3 separate regions of the Homo sapiens genome follow, and all the other regions are linked to region 2. Evidence: promoter capture Hi-C in 16 types of primary human blood cells and fetal thymus (Javierre and others, 2016). All regions are on one chromosome and are shown on one strand. The core of a region is centred on a gene start or on the middle of the fragment in contact, and the rest is flanking DNA. Distances in the headings are between cores, read along the strand shown.

Region 1 (3,843 bases), core at 1,321-3,820, 7.6 Mb before region 2:
TGTGAATCAGGCAATGTGTTAATGCTTTATATATTTTATCTCATTAAATCTTCACAACTTGTAAGGTTGGTGACATTATTTTTCACATAAGAAAACTTTAGAGATCTAACTATTATATAATAGACAACTCTATCTAGATGTTCCACAGGTGTCTAAAACAGAACCATTTCTCCATCTGTAAAAGAGGAAAGGCTAGATTCACTGCTGGAAATGCTCTTCCCTCTACACACACCAAGCCAACTCCTTCTTACCTTCATGTGTCAGCTTAAGTGTCTTCAGATAAGACTATCCCACCTTCTCAATCTAAAGTAGGTTCCGTGGTGGTACCCTGTTATTTTCCTAACCAACAATTGTAATGACATATTTAGTATTTTGTTTTGTTCTGTTCTGTCACATGCTATATACTATGAACTCCATGACAGTAGGGACCATACCAACATTATTTGCCCTTCTAGCCCCAGCATCTAGCATACTTCCTGATATATGGAAGGTGCTCCGTAAAATGTGCTTGAATACATTAAAGACTTCTAAATGTTTCCTTTCATATACCTATGAGGCTATATTCAGTAACTTTCAACAACTGTTCATTGAGTGACTGGTATTTGTAAGTCACTGTGCTAGGCCTGTTTGGACAAAGACAAATACAGTTAATTCCTCAACAGGCCTAGCACAGTGCCTTGCACATAATAGTATACAGCATAGTATAAAGCCCAGAAAGAGGAATAATTATAAGTGGAGAAGTGTTGTAACAGAGATACGAACAAAGTGCTGCAGTTGCAAAGAAGGAAGTAGTTAAGATGTGATGCAAGAAGTTAAAGTCAGGAAAAGAAATGAATTTCCAGGGTTCAAATTGTCACATTCTGTATAATGTCTCTATTTTGATACAGCTGTACTTTATATCTGCTTCTAATTTATAAGACCTGGAGTAGAAGTCCTAGTAAATATGTTCTCAAGTAGAGATGCATGAAAAACATATTTCTCTTGAATCTTATGATCATTGTTATCACTTGCTTTATCTCCACATCACTGTAAAGACATTGGGCCTCCTACCTCAGCCCAACCCTCTTCAAAAGATTTCAGGCCTATACTACAAGTCAAACTTTTCTTCCTTCCATATTGCCAGATCTGCTTTCCCTGAAGCTGAGATTAGGGGACAATGACTTTTGATCCCTTTTAACTCTCAAAGGATAATGTTCTTTTAAGATGCTGTCCCACATGTTCTCATTATAATGAGTGGTTTATGGAAAATTACCTTGGTCCTATAATTTCTGTCTGATGCCTATCTTCTCTCCTGCTGATCTTTAACCAGGTGATCCACCCCAACACAGGTTAGGGAACATTGCTCTAGCTATGTTCCAGAATAGATTTCTTCTTCTTCTTCTTTTTTAAAAAAAATCTCCTTTACCCCTTTATTTGTCAGGAACACTTCAAATAAAACCTTCTTTTGGGATTTGCATGTGTATGTATGTGAACAAATTGGGTTCACTTAAAGGAAAAGAAAGGGGGTTGGCAAACTGTCATTATCACTAGTTATCTAGTGAAAGCCTACAGAGGATGCAACAGGAGGAAAGATGTAGATAGTATGTAACTGCGTACCTTTTTAATCTCAGAATTTTAAATATTTAACACCATTGCCATATAGTTACATCAGTGACTGTTAATCAGACCCACTCCCCCCCAAAAAAACCCTTTCCTAAAGCAACCCCACTGAATGAAACGGACACAAATAAAAAGGATTGTCTGGTGTACTGACTTCCAAGAACTATGAAGTGAAAAAAAAAAGAAAGCGATTTTAAAATTAAAATAAATATTTTCCTTTTAAACCAAAAGCTTGCTTCATCCATTGATTCATCGAATATTCATTGGTACCCATCTGGGAGGCCAGCTTTGCATATTTTTCGAGAGCTCCAGCTCTGAAGGCAGAAGGATTCTACTTCTGCCATGTACAAGCTTCCTGTCCCCAGACACGTTACTTACCTCCGTGCCTTAATCCCTTCATCTTTAGCGTTAATGTAAATATTAGAATTATCTCACAAATTGTAGTCAGAATTAAAGATAATGTATGTATGGTGCTTAGGAGTACTTGAAACTACATCAGTACACTTAGTCTTTACCTTAATTTTCTTTCAGCACCACGGTCAACGTCAAATATCTGGAAGGACATTGAAATATCCTGAAAGTGAAATTGTATATGACTTAATTAAATTCTATTTAAGTGTCTCCTGTAACTCTAACTATAGAAACAGGGAGACGAATAACCAGAGTAGTCAGAACCTCAGCATGGGTAGGGGACAAATCCCGTCCTTCTTCGCATTCTCCAAGGTGACTTACAGAACGCTAACGCCTTGCATACGGACAGGCGCCCCAAATTTAAGTTCGCCGTCATCTTTAAAACCCCCAGGGAGCTATGGGCCCGGGTCTCGGCTAGCTCTAAGGTCCCACCCTCGCTGATCTCAGGTTACCCAACCCTCCTCTCGGGTTACCCAACCCGGCCTCGCAGCAGTCCTCGGGTCTTCGGCCCCTCCCGCCCCTCGCCGGCGGTGCCCGCCGAGCCGGGCTGTCCCACTGCGCATGCTCCTCGCCGCGCGGTTGGGGAGCGCCGGGGCAGGGAGGCGGGCACCAGGCGCGGGTCCCTCCGGGCAGGGGAGGTAGGCCTGGGCCTGACGCCGGCCACGCAGCGGCGGGAGAGTGAGCACTCGGGCGGCGGCGTCCTGGAGACCCGCGAGAGATGGAAGCGGCGGCGACGCCGGCGGCTGCCGGGGCGGCGAGGCGCGAGGAGCTAGGTCGGTGTTGTGCGTGGGCAGGGAGCCGGGGCTGACGTGGGCGGGGGTCTGTGCGGGAGTCGGGTGCGCCCACACCTCCAGGGGCCCCGCGCTTGGCCTGAGTTGAGGCCCGATTGCTAACTGACCCCGTGGTCAGCATCCGCAAAGGAACCGGTTATCTGACCCCGAGAACTTGGTCAGACGAAGCCCAGGCCTGAATAGGGCGTTAAAATATGTGTGTGTGTGTTTGCGCGCGCGCGTGTGGGTGAGTGTGTGTGTTGAGTGGGGCGGGGCCCTGTGGGTACACGTCAAAGACGCAAGAGCCTGCGCCGTGACTCACGGTTTTTTTCCCAATGATGCTTTAAGGAAGTTATCATTGTTCTGCTTTTCAAATGCTGCAGCCCCATTCGGAATCTCCAGATGAATCCTCATTTTACTCCTTGTTATCCCAGAGTTTCGAACAGGTCGTGCTGACCAGAATGAACAGGAGATACCTGTAGCTTGCTCACTTGGCAAAGTTTGTTTGTTTTTTGCTGCTTTCCTCCCATCTTGTTTCTTGGCGACAGGGCGTGTTTGTTTACGGTTTCCCGCTGTCCAAAATAAAAAAGTAAGGATCAGGGTGGTAAAATGATCGCTCTCCCAGTTATACGTACTGTACTTGGGAGTATTTTTCATTCGATGCTGATTAAATGTAATTAAAAAATTAAATCTAAATGGAATCTTCAAGAAAACCGTTGAACTTTAAAAAATACCGTATTATAAGTAACTGATAGGTTGTTGTTATTCCTCTAATAGCCTGCAGGGCACTTTGCAATGGAATTGTTTTCAGGCCGTAATAATGGTAGAAACAATAAACTTAACATTTTATTGCGTGCTTACTGTGTGCAAACACTGTGCTAAGTGCTTTACCTATGCATTGTCTTTAATCCTCACAGCAACTGAGATAGGTGCTATCATGATTTCCATTTTATAGATACAGTAATTTTAAGCTTATTAATGGCAGAACCCAAATGTGAACTCAGGTTTCATTCATTAATAACCTGTCTTAGTGAGGATATGGAGAAATGGGTATTCTCATGCA
Region 2 (3,492 bases), core at 1-2,500:
TGACTTGCCGGTGGGCGGGGACCCAGAACGCCCTGGGCGGGAAGTGGTGCTGATTTACGGCTCAACGCCTCTCGATTGCAGCCCGGGCCCGCCCCCACTCAGTCAAAAGCCGCGCCCTCCATCCTGACTGTGATTGGGCGCGGCGTCTAGAAATTACGGCCACTTATTCGCTTAGAGGAGGTCCAGGCGCCTGTGGGCCTGCCCCCCTCGCCAGCCGAGTATTTCCTTCCCTGACTATTTATCAGCTTAGCTCCCTGATCTCTTCGCGTCCTGCGGGAAAGATGGGGCGGCCCGAATGTTGTAATGTTACTGCGCTCCTGCCTCTCCTCAGGGCAGCTGGGAACTAGCTGCCTGCCCCTTTCAGTCCTTGAGGGAACTCGCCCCTTTGCCCTGGCCTGTGTGGTGTTAAAGCTCTGTTTCTCGGGCACCTCCTCCTCCAAACCCCGGACCAGCCGCCCAGCGCCGTCAGAGCAGCCCCGACTAGCCTCCTCTCCTCTCAGCCGTCTGACTCCTCTCCCCAGTCTGTAGTCCCCTCAATTTGCATCCTTTAGCCCCGCTTGGAAAGAGACCGGAGAGAAATTTGCCCACTACCCCCGCGAGAAGACCCACTTGTCAGCCGTGTCTCGGGGTGGGGGGCACTGCAAGGCCTGGCGCTGTTTTGTGCACGTTAAATGCCCAGCAGTATCTCCCAGACCGGCAACCCCCGACCCTCCAGTCTCCATGTCTTACAGAAGCCAAATTCGAGAGTTATATAATTTCTAGTGCTGCTGTTGCTCCTGCCTGAGGAAACACTTCATCGCGTGGAGGGTGCAGGACATTTCAGTGCTCTTCCCTAAAAGAACGGGGCTTGGGCAGGGGTGGCCAGCGGTGGCAAAGAAATGTCTTGTCTTTTCTGCAAAAGGAAGGTGGGTAGTTTGAAGAGAGATTGAGAGAAAAGGTGGATGTGAAAGCCAAGCAGCTGCACTTTCTCATTTAGGAAATCGCGGACCGTTTACATAGCTTATGCTTACATGTCTAATACTACTACGGCGTCTCTGAAAACACCTTTGGGGGAAGGTTTGGCTTCTCTCGAAGTCTCAGTGTTTTTCCTCGCCGGATAGGGAGCTGCTTGAATGCGAAGAGATGGCATGATGTGAATGACTCCAGTGTGAAGAAATCTGCTTCGCCAACTCATCCTGCATCAAGTGCCCATTGAGTAGCACTGTCACTTTAATGTCTCCATGCCAAGGGATTGCTTTCCTTTTTTTTCAATCCTCTCGGTTAATACATGGGAGGATCAGAATCAGAGGGGCATTAAGGATCAAGCCTGGGGGCTTGGAGAGCACAGAAGAAAAAAATGAAAGGGACAGCAAGCTGGATTCTGAGTTACTGAGGGGGTGAGATCCGGAACTTCTGATCAGTAAATATAAGGGGGCCTTTCAATGTGTGTTCTGCCACAGAAAACTGTTCAAACTCACCTATCTTTTTAGAGACTGGAGTCAAAGAGATTTTTAAAAGTATTTTTGGGGAGGTGGGGTTACATTTTTCTCTACAGATTTGAGTATCTTTATCATCATCTTTGAATTTGACCATGTATAAAGTAATGAGACCTGTCTAAATTTGGTTTGTGCCTTAATTGAGTTAGTCATTGAACTTCCAAAAATGTTGCTGCCTGAAGAGGAATTTCAGTAACGTTCTTCATGTTTACAATAATTTTCCCAGTTTGTAAAAACAGTCTAAATATTTTCTGAAAATTGAAAAACTTGAAAAACTAAAAAATTACGTTGCTGTAAACTCTGTGGGCGGTGTAAAAAGTTTAGTTGTGGAAAAAATACATCATTATTTTCTTTGTCTGACATAGAAGACTCAGCCTGGATTTCAAAACTGAACACTGAAGTGGTTTGCAACAGTTACCTGGCTCTTGGCCTCAATCCAGCTGGATCAAACTGAGACCTGAAAAGAGATATTGACTCCTGTGGCAGTGGAAAGACCCAAGAATGCCAGTCAAGAAGACAGGTGGGCCATAAGGTTGCTATATAATATTTCTCCCTTTTGTTGGTTCTGGTACTTGTAATTTAAATTATATTCCATTTGAGAGTAAAGTTTTGCTTCAGTTTGGGGGAAATATTTATTGTAATATAGTTTCAGTGGTACATAATTCAGTAATATTATTTTACTAAAGTAAAAGGAAGCAAGACTATAGTATTTATTGATAGATATTTATGATTTCATAAATCAGGTTGTTTATATCACCGTTGGTAATAAGAATAGATTCAGTACCGCAGATTTGGAGTCTCCTTTAGCTTGTTTTCTTAGCTTGTTGAAGGTTACTTTTAAGCAGTCTTTAAAAAAGAAACTTGTGCAGTGGAGCTCTTCCTCATGGGTTTAATATTTATCAAACTAATTACAGAATTGTGAAAGGTAGCAAAGTAATTTCATTTGCACTGAACAAAATTACAGCTTTATAATTTATCTTTTGGTTAAAAAATAGACTTATTATTTGGATTTATTCTAGTGTAAATCTTCACTTTTGTGATAAAGCACAACTTTCGTGACTATTGTGCTTTTCCAGATATATGCATTATCCAATAACATGATTGTCAAGTTCCCCAAATGGGGCAAACACCTGTTTTTTTCCTCCCTCCTCAACAACTTTTATTATTGGAATTGATCAAGATCTAGTGAATTCCTGAAGCATAGTTGATTATATTCTGAACTTGGGGATTCAGTTTAGCTTAGATGCACCCCAGGTTAACTTTGTTCCAAAGGATCCTAGTTTGGGACTGTTTTTGTTTTGTTTTGTTTTGACATTATATGGAAGGTGAGATCAACTGTAAAGAGTTTCTCAAGAGTTTTGAATCAAAACTTATATGAACAGCCTTGAACTCTGCTATACTGGACTAATATAGATCCAAATGTTGTCCAGTTATGTGAGTTGCTACAATCTGAAACTAAAGCTCTGGGTGAATTGCAGGTTAAAGTGGAACTTATCTCTGCATGGTGTTTAATTCTTCTACCTGTGGATTTGTTAGGGATGTTGAGGAAACTTATAATCACTGAGATGCCTTATCCAAGCTGATATTTGTAGAGATGGACAATGATATATAAAACTTTTGGAACACCTAGAACTGTGATATTTGCACACTGGGATTTAAGATTGGGATTGTTTCCTCCCCCTGCTGTTTCTAATAATACCACTGACAGAAGTAAACTGCCTGAGATTTTGGAGCCACACTTGTCCAGACCAGACACAATTGGTTTATCTAGAACAAGAATGGTTTTGGGAATGTAGCCAATAAATGATATGGCTCTTTGACATATTTAAGTTGATGTGTGTTTTTATTCTTTCTACCATTTCTCTAGAGAGTTTCTTTTGGATTACCTTATTTTGAACTAATAATGGAATTAAACACATTACGTGTGTGTGTGAGAGAGAGAGAGACAGAGAGGAAAAGAGTGAAAGGAAGAGAGAATGGGAAGGAGGAGAGACAGAGAAAGAGATAAAAAGGTATG
Region 3 (3,621 bases), core at 755-3,254, 8.1 Mb before region 2:
AAGATTATAAAAGCTCAAAGGTAAAAGTTACCAGAAACATGATCATAGAGCAAATTCGGATATGAATGGGCATGGGATCATTGATTTTTAAAAATACCTATTAGTTTAAATAGCTATTTTAAGCATAGAATTTTCAATACCTTACTTGGGGTGCCGGGTTTCAGGATACTTTGGAACCTAAGCAACCTCATTCTTGAAAGATAGATTTATGTACTTAATAGTAAATATAAATTTGAAATACACATTTTTCCACAGGTGAATTTTGAAGTCTTCATCAGTATATCCATATTAAAACGAGATGACAGAAGCCAAAGTAATTATGGCAAGTAATGGTTTTTATCTTAACTATAAGTTATTTGCTCAAGGGTGTAATGGTCATTACCAAGGCTTTTAGAATGCAGTTTCTCATTTGCTGTGGACATGACCATAAAAAAATTTCCCAGTAGGTTTTCTATCTGCTACTTTGCTAGCAATCAGCTTATTGGGAACAGTTGATTAACTGTAATAGAAATGCAATACAAATAAAATGTGAACCACATGTGATTTTTCTTTAAAATCAGTGAGATTTGAAAATTCTCCTAGATCTCTTGAATCATGCAAATTTGCTTTGCCTTTATATTGTAACCCTTGTGGGTTGCTAATAACCAAGCAGTTTGTAGTAGAGTTAACTCAGGCTCGTTCTAGGGACTCATTCATGTTCACTCACTGTACACTCATCTCTGGAAATGTAAAATTTACTTTTATACTATTGTTATGTAGGGCTGACAGGACAACTGGATCAGTTTCATTAAAAAGGTATGTATGCATTAGAAAAGACATTTGTATGGGTCATTTCAAAGAGGGCTTATGAGGCTGTGAAACCCAGAGCTCTTAACGCTGTGACCAAAGATGGAAGTTCTCTATAGGAAGCCATAGCACTCCTAATGTTTGGTGCTATGTTTTCCTGAGGAGATATAAAACGTAATAATCCAGGATTGTTGCCATGTGAGAGTTTTAAAGGTTAATCAAAATTTCTCTTCTTCAGGGCAAACTTGAAGATAAATCTTTTGACTCCAGCTCTTTAGAGGATCTAAAGTGACCTTGATGGACAGTGGAAGAAATCACAACATGGAATTCCTCGAATAACAATTTATTGACTTTAAATAATTTTGTCTAATGCTACATATACACAATTAAAAAACCTTTACACTATTTCTAGAAAGTCAGCATGTATTTTTGGCTCGAAGTTTCTCTAGTGTTTTCTGTGGAAGGAATAAAAATTTGAGTTTCAGTTGTGTACTTCATGCTTGAAAAATTAAGTCCTTCTCCCTCAGTTATACTCACCTTATGGAATTCTTTTGCCCTTGCTCTGTTTTGGGCATAAGCTTCTTGTTTTGTTTTTTCTTCCTTTTGTTGTTTCACTTCAGCTAGTTGATTGTATAACCTGTAAAGAATTTATATAGAATTAGAGACAAACACTGCAAAAAGTGAATCACTAAAAAAAAAAAAAAAATTAACCCTACCTTAGACCCCTTTGGTGCCTTAGAGCCTGTGTAGTCTTTCTGTCTTCAGGAAAAGATGCTCTGACTTTATTCACGCCCTTTAGACGACTCACAGATGAACCTGAGGAAAGAAAAGTGAAATCAAGTTGTAAACACAAGGCTTTAAACATTTCAGGGAGTTGGTTGAAGATTTTAAAAATTCAACATACTTATAGATGGTTTCTCTTTAACTGTTTTGATTTGAGAATTTTCAGAGACATGAATTTTATTCCTTATTTCTTTCTGCCTCTGGTGGGATCTCTCCATAAATGATTTTTTCCTCTTTATAAATGCTTCTTGTAAGCTCCCTGGTACAGGTGTAAGCCTGCGAGGGGTTTCTGCTGGGGGAAAAGAAATTTATGACAGAAATAGGCAAAGTATCTACTTTCCATTAGAAGTGTGGAGGCCGTCCAAGGCTTACCTGTAGATGCTGTCCTTGGTTTTTCTATGGAAAGTTCTGATACAGCTGGATAATCTGAGGCTTCTGTTGCTGATACAAGAGGCAGAAACTCACTCACCTAATGGCAAGAAAGTTGCATGTTTTACTCTTTTTAAACGCTTTAAGCGGGTCTTGCTCTGCTGTCAGATTAGAGTGCAGCGGCATGATCACACCTCACTGCAGCCTCAATCTTAGCTGGGTCTACAGAGACCCGCCACCATGCCTGATTTTTGTATTTTTTGTAGGGATTGGGTTTTGCCTTGTTGCCCAGGCTGGTCTTGAACTGGGCTTAGGCTCCACTGCCCTCACACCTCTAGGCCTCTGTTTAGATAGCTTTATTCTTATTGCCTCCCTACTCCCCTAGTAAAATTACCAGTTGTTCTGAAGTCATTTTTCAATATCTGGGAATAAGTTTAGGTAAAACTTCCAACTTGGCACTATAACACTAGGTGTATAAGATTAGTTCTGCCAGTCTTGGAGACAGGCATAAATTGGAGTGGGGATTAAAAGAAAATGCACAATGGTTGACAGAATAGTGAAGGTTTAAGACAAATTGAGAGCTGGTGGGGGTGTCGGCTTAGTTAAATGCATAGCATAATTCCCTCCAATGAGTACCTTCTGATAAGTTGTAAGAGACAAATCAACTGGTTTGCTTGTAATAGAATAAAATAGAAGGAAAGCTTAAATTTACCTGAAAGAAGCATTTTGCTTCATTCTCGCTCTTCTCTTCTAGGGTTAAATTTGCAAAATCCATTTCAGCAATACTGGTATCAGTGGTGCTTATTAAAGTAAGTTCTGGTTCTTCCATTATACCATGGCCAGTTTCTGTTTCCTGTGAACCACAATTAAAAGGAAAACCATGTCAAAATAGCCTTAAAAGACTTAAACTAATCGTTTTGTATATAATGCACATTTTTTGCAAGTGTATATAAATGTGAAAATGGAGGAAGAAAAGCAATGATTGGCAAAGACCAACAGATCAGATTTCCTTAGGCTTCCATAACTCCAGCATTCAGTTGTAGAAATACTGGAGCCTACTTTGGGGAGGGGATGAAATAGTGTGACAATGGACTGAAAGGTATCTACCACAATGATTACAAACCTAAATGCTTGTAGTGTTGGGCAAAAAATATAAATGCAGGTTGGCTGTGCCGAATTGTATCCTTTAAAGGGAGCAGGGGTCGACTGGGCTGCTACCAAATGTGGGCCACTGACTGCTAACAGATAATGTTTCAAAAGTATCTAAACACAACAAGAACAAAAGCAGCCACATAAAACGTGGTTTAGTTGTAATTCTTATTTTCAATCTGTTATGTTTATTTGTGGAAGGATAAACTGCACATACTGCTAGATGAAAACCAGTCACCAGTTGACTGGTGTTGAAAGCAAGCAGATTATAAGTTGCTTAATATGAGGAGCAGGTTTCCAATACTTATTCCAATAATGGATGAATTCATTGCACTGGAATGAGGCTCAACACTGAAAGTGCTGAAGCACAGGCAGAACCACCATTTTTCAGGGAAGTTGGAGAAAGGATATCTGAATTGGGAGAAAAAGGATCTTTTGTAAAATACTCTCAGAAGACAGTTTTCAAATTTTTAAGTTTCTGCATTATGCTGGATATTTCTAGTGATCACAAGCTGGATAGCAATATTAACAAGC

The links. The method cuts DNA at HindIII sites, captures the fragments that hold promoters and counts their contacts. A CHiCAGO score of 5 or more calls a contact.
Region 1: a contact is called between the fragment with the promoter of SLC36A4 here and the fragment with the promoter of DLG2 in region 2, in 1 of 17 cell types (naive CD8 T cells). The highest score is 7.3, in naive CD8 T cells.
Region 3: a contact is called between a fragment that was not itself captured here and the fragment with the promoter of DLG2 in region 2, in 1 of 17 cell types (neutrophils). The highest score is 5.7, in neutrophils.

What each region holds. Positions count from the first base shown.
Region 1 is chr11:93,196,718-93,200,560 of GRCh38, reverse strand. SLC36A4 (solute carrier family 36 member 4) reads left to right here and starts at 2,570. Exons shown (of 11, transcript NM_152313.4): 1 at 2,570-2,783. The coding sequence starts at 2,729. RefSeq lists a silencer at 2,429-2,808. The HindIII fragment of the contact is 1,801 bases long and covers 1,953-3,753 here.
Region 2 is chr11:85,625,102-85,628,593 of GRCh38, reverse strand. It overlaps DLG2 (discs large MAGUK scaffold protein 2), which reads left to right and starts at 1,250. Exons shown (of 28, transcript NM_001142699.3): 1 at 1,250-1,376; 2 at 1,841-2,007. It overlaps TMEM126B (transmembrane protein 126B), which reads right to left and starts at 1. Exons shown (of 5, transcript NM_018480.7): 1 at 1. RefSeq lists enhancers at 204-393, 534-583, 664-823, 696-1,204 and a silencer at 3,143-3,343. The HindIII fragment of the contact is 9,013 bases long and covers 1-3,492 here.
Region 3 is chr11:93,727,851-93,731,471 of GRCh38, reverse strand. It overlaps CEP295 (centrosomal protein 295), which reads right to left. Exons shown (of 30, transcript NM_033395.2): 25 at 2,651-2,791; 26 at 1,942-2,038; 27 at 1,691-1,858; 28 at 1,503-1,602; 29 at 1,324-1,423; 30 at 1,114-1,241. The coding sequence ends at 1,203. SNORA25 (small nucleolar RNA, H/ACA box 25) reads left to right here and starts at 826; the gene lies at 826-959. SNORA32 (small nucleolar RNA, H/ACA box 32) reads left to right here and starts at 373; the gene lies at 373-493. It also overlaps a transcript of TAF1D not described here. The HindIII fragment of the contact is 1,275 bases long and covers 1,367-2,641 here.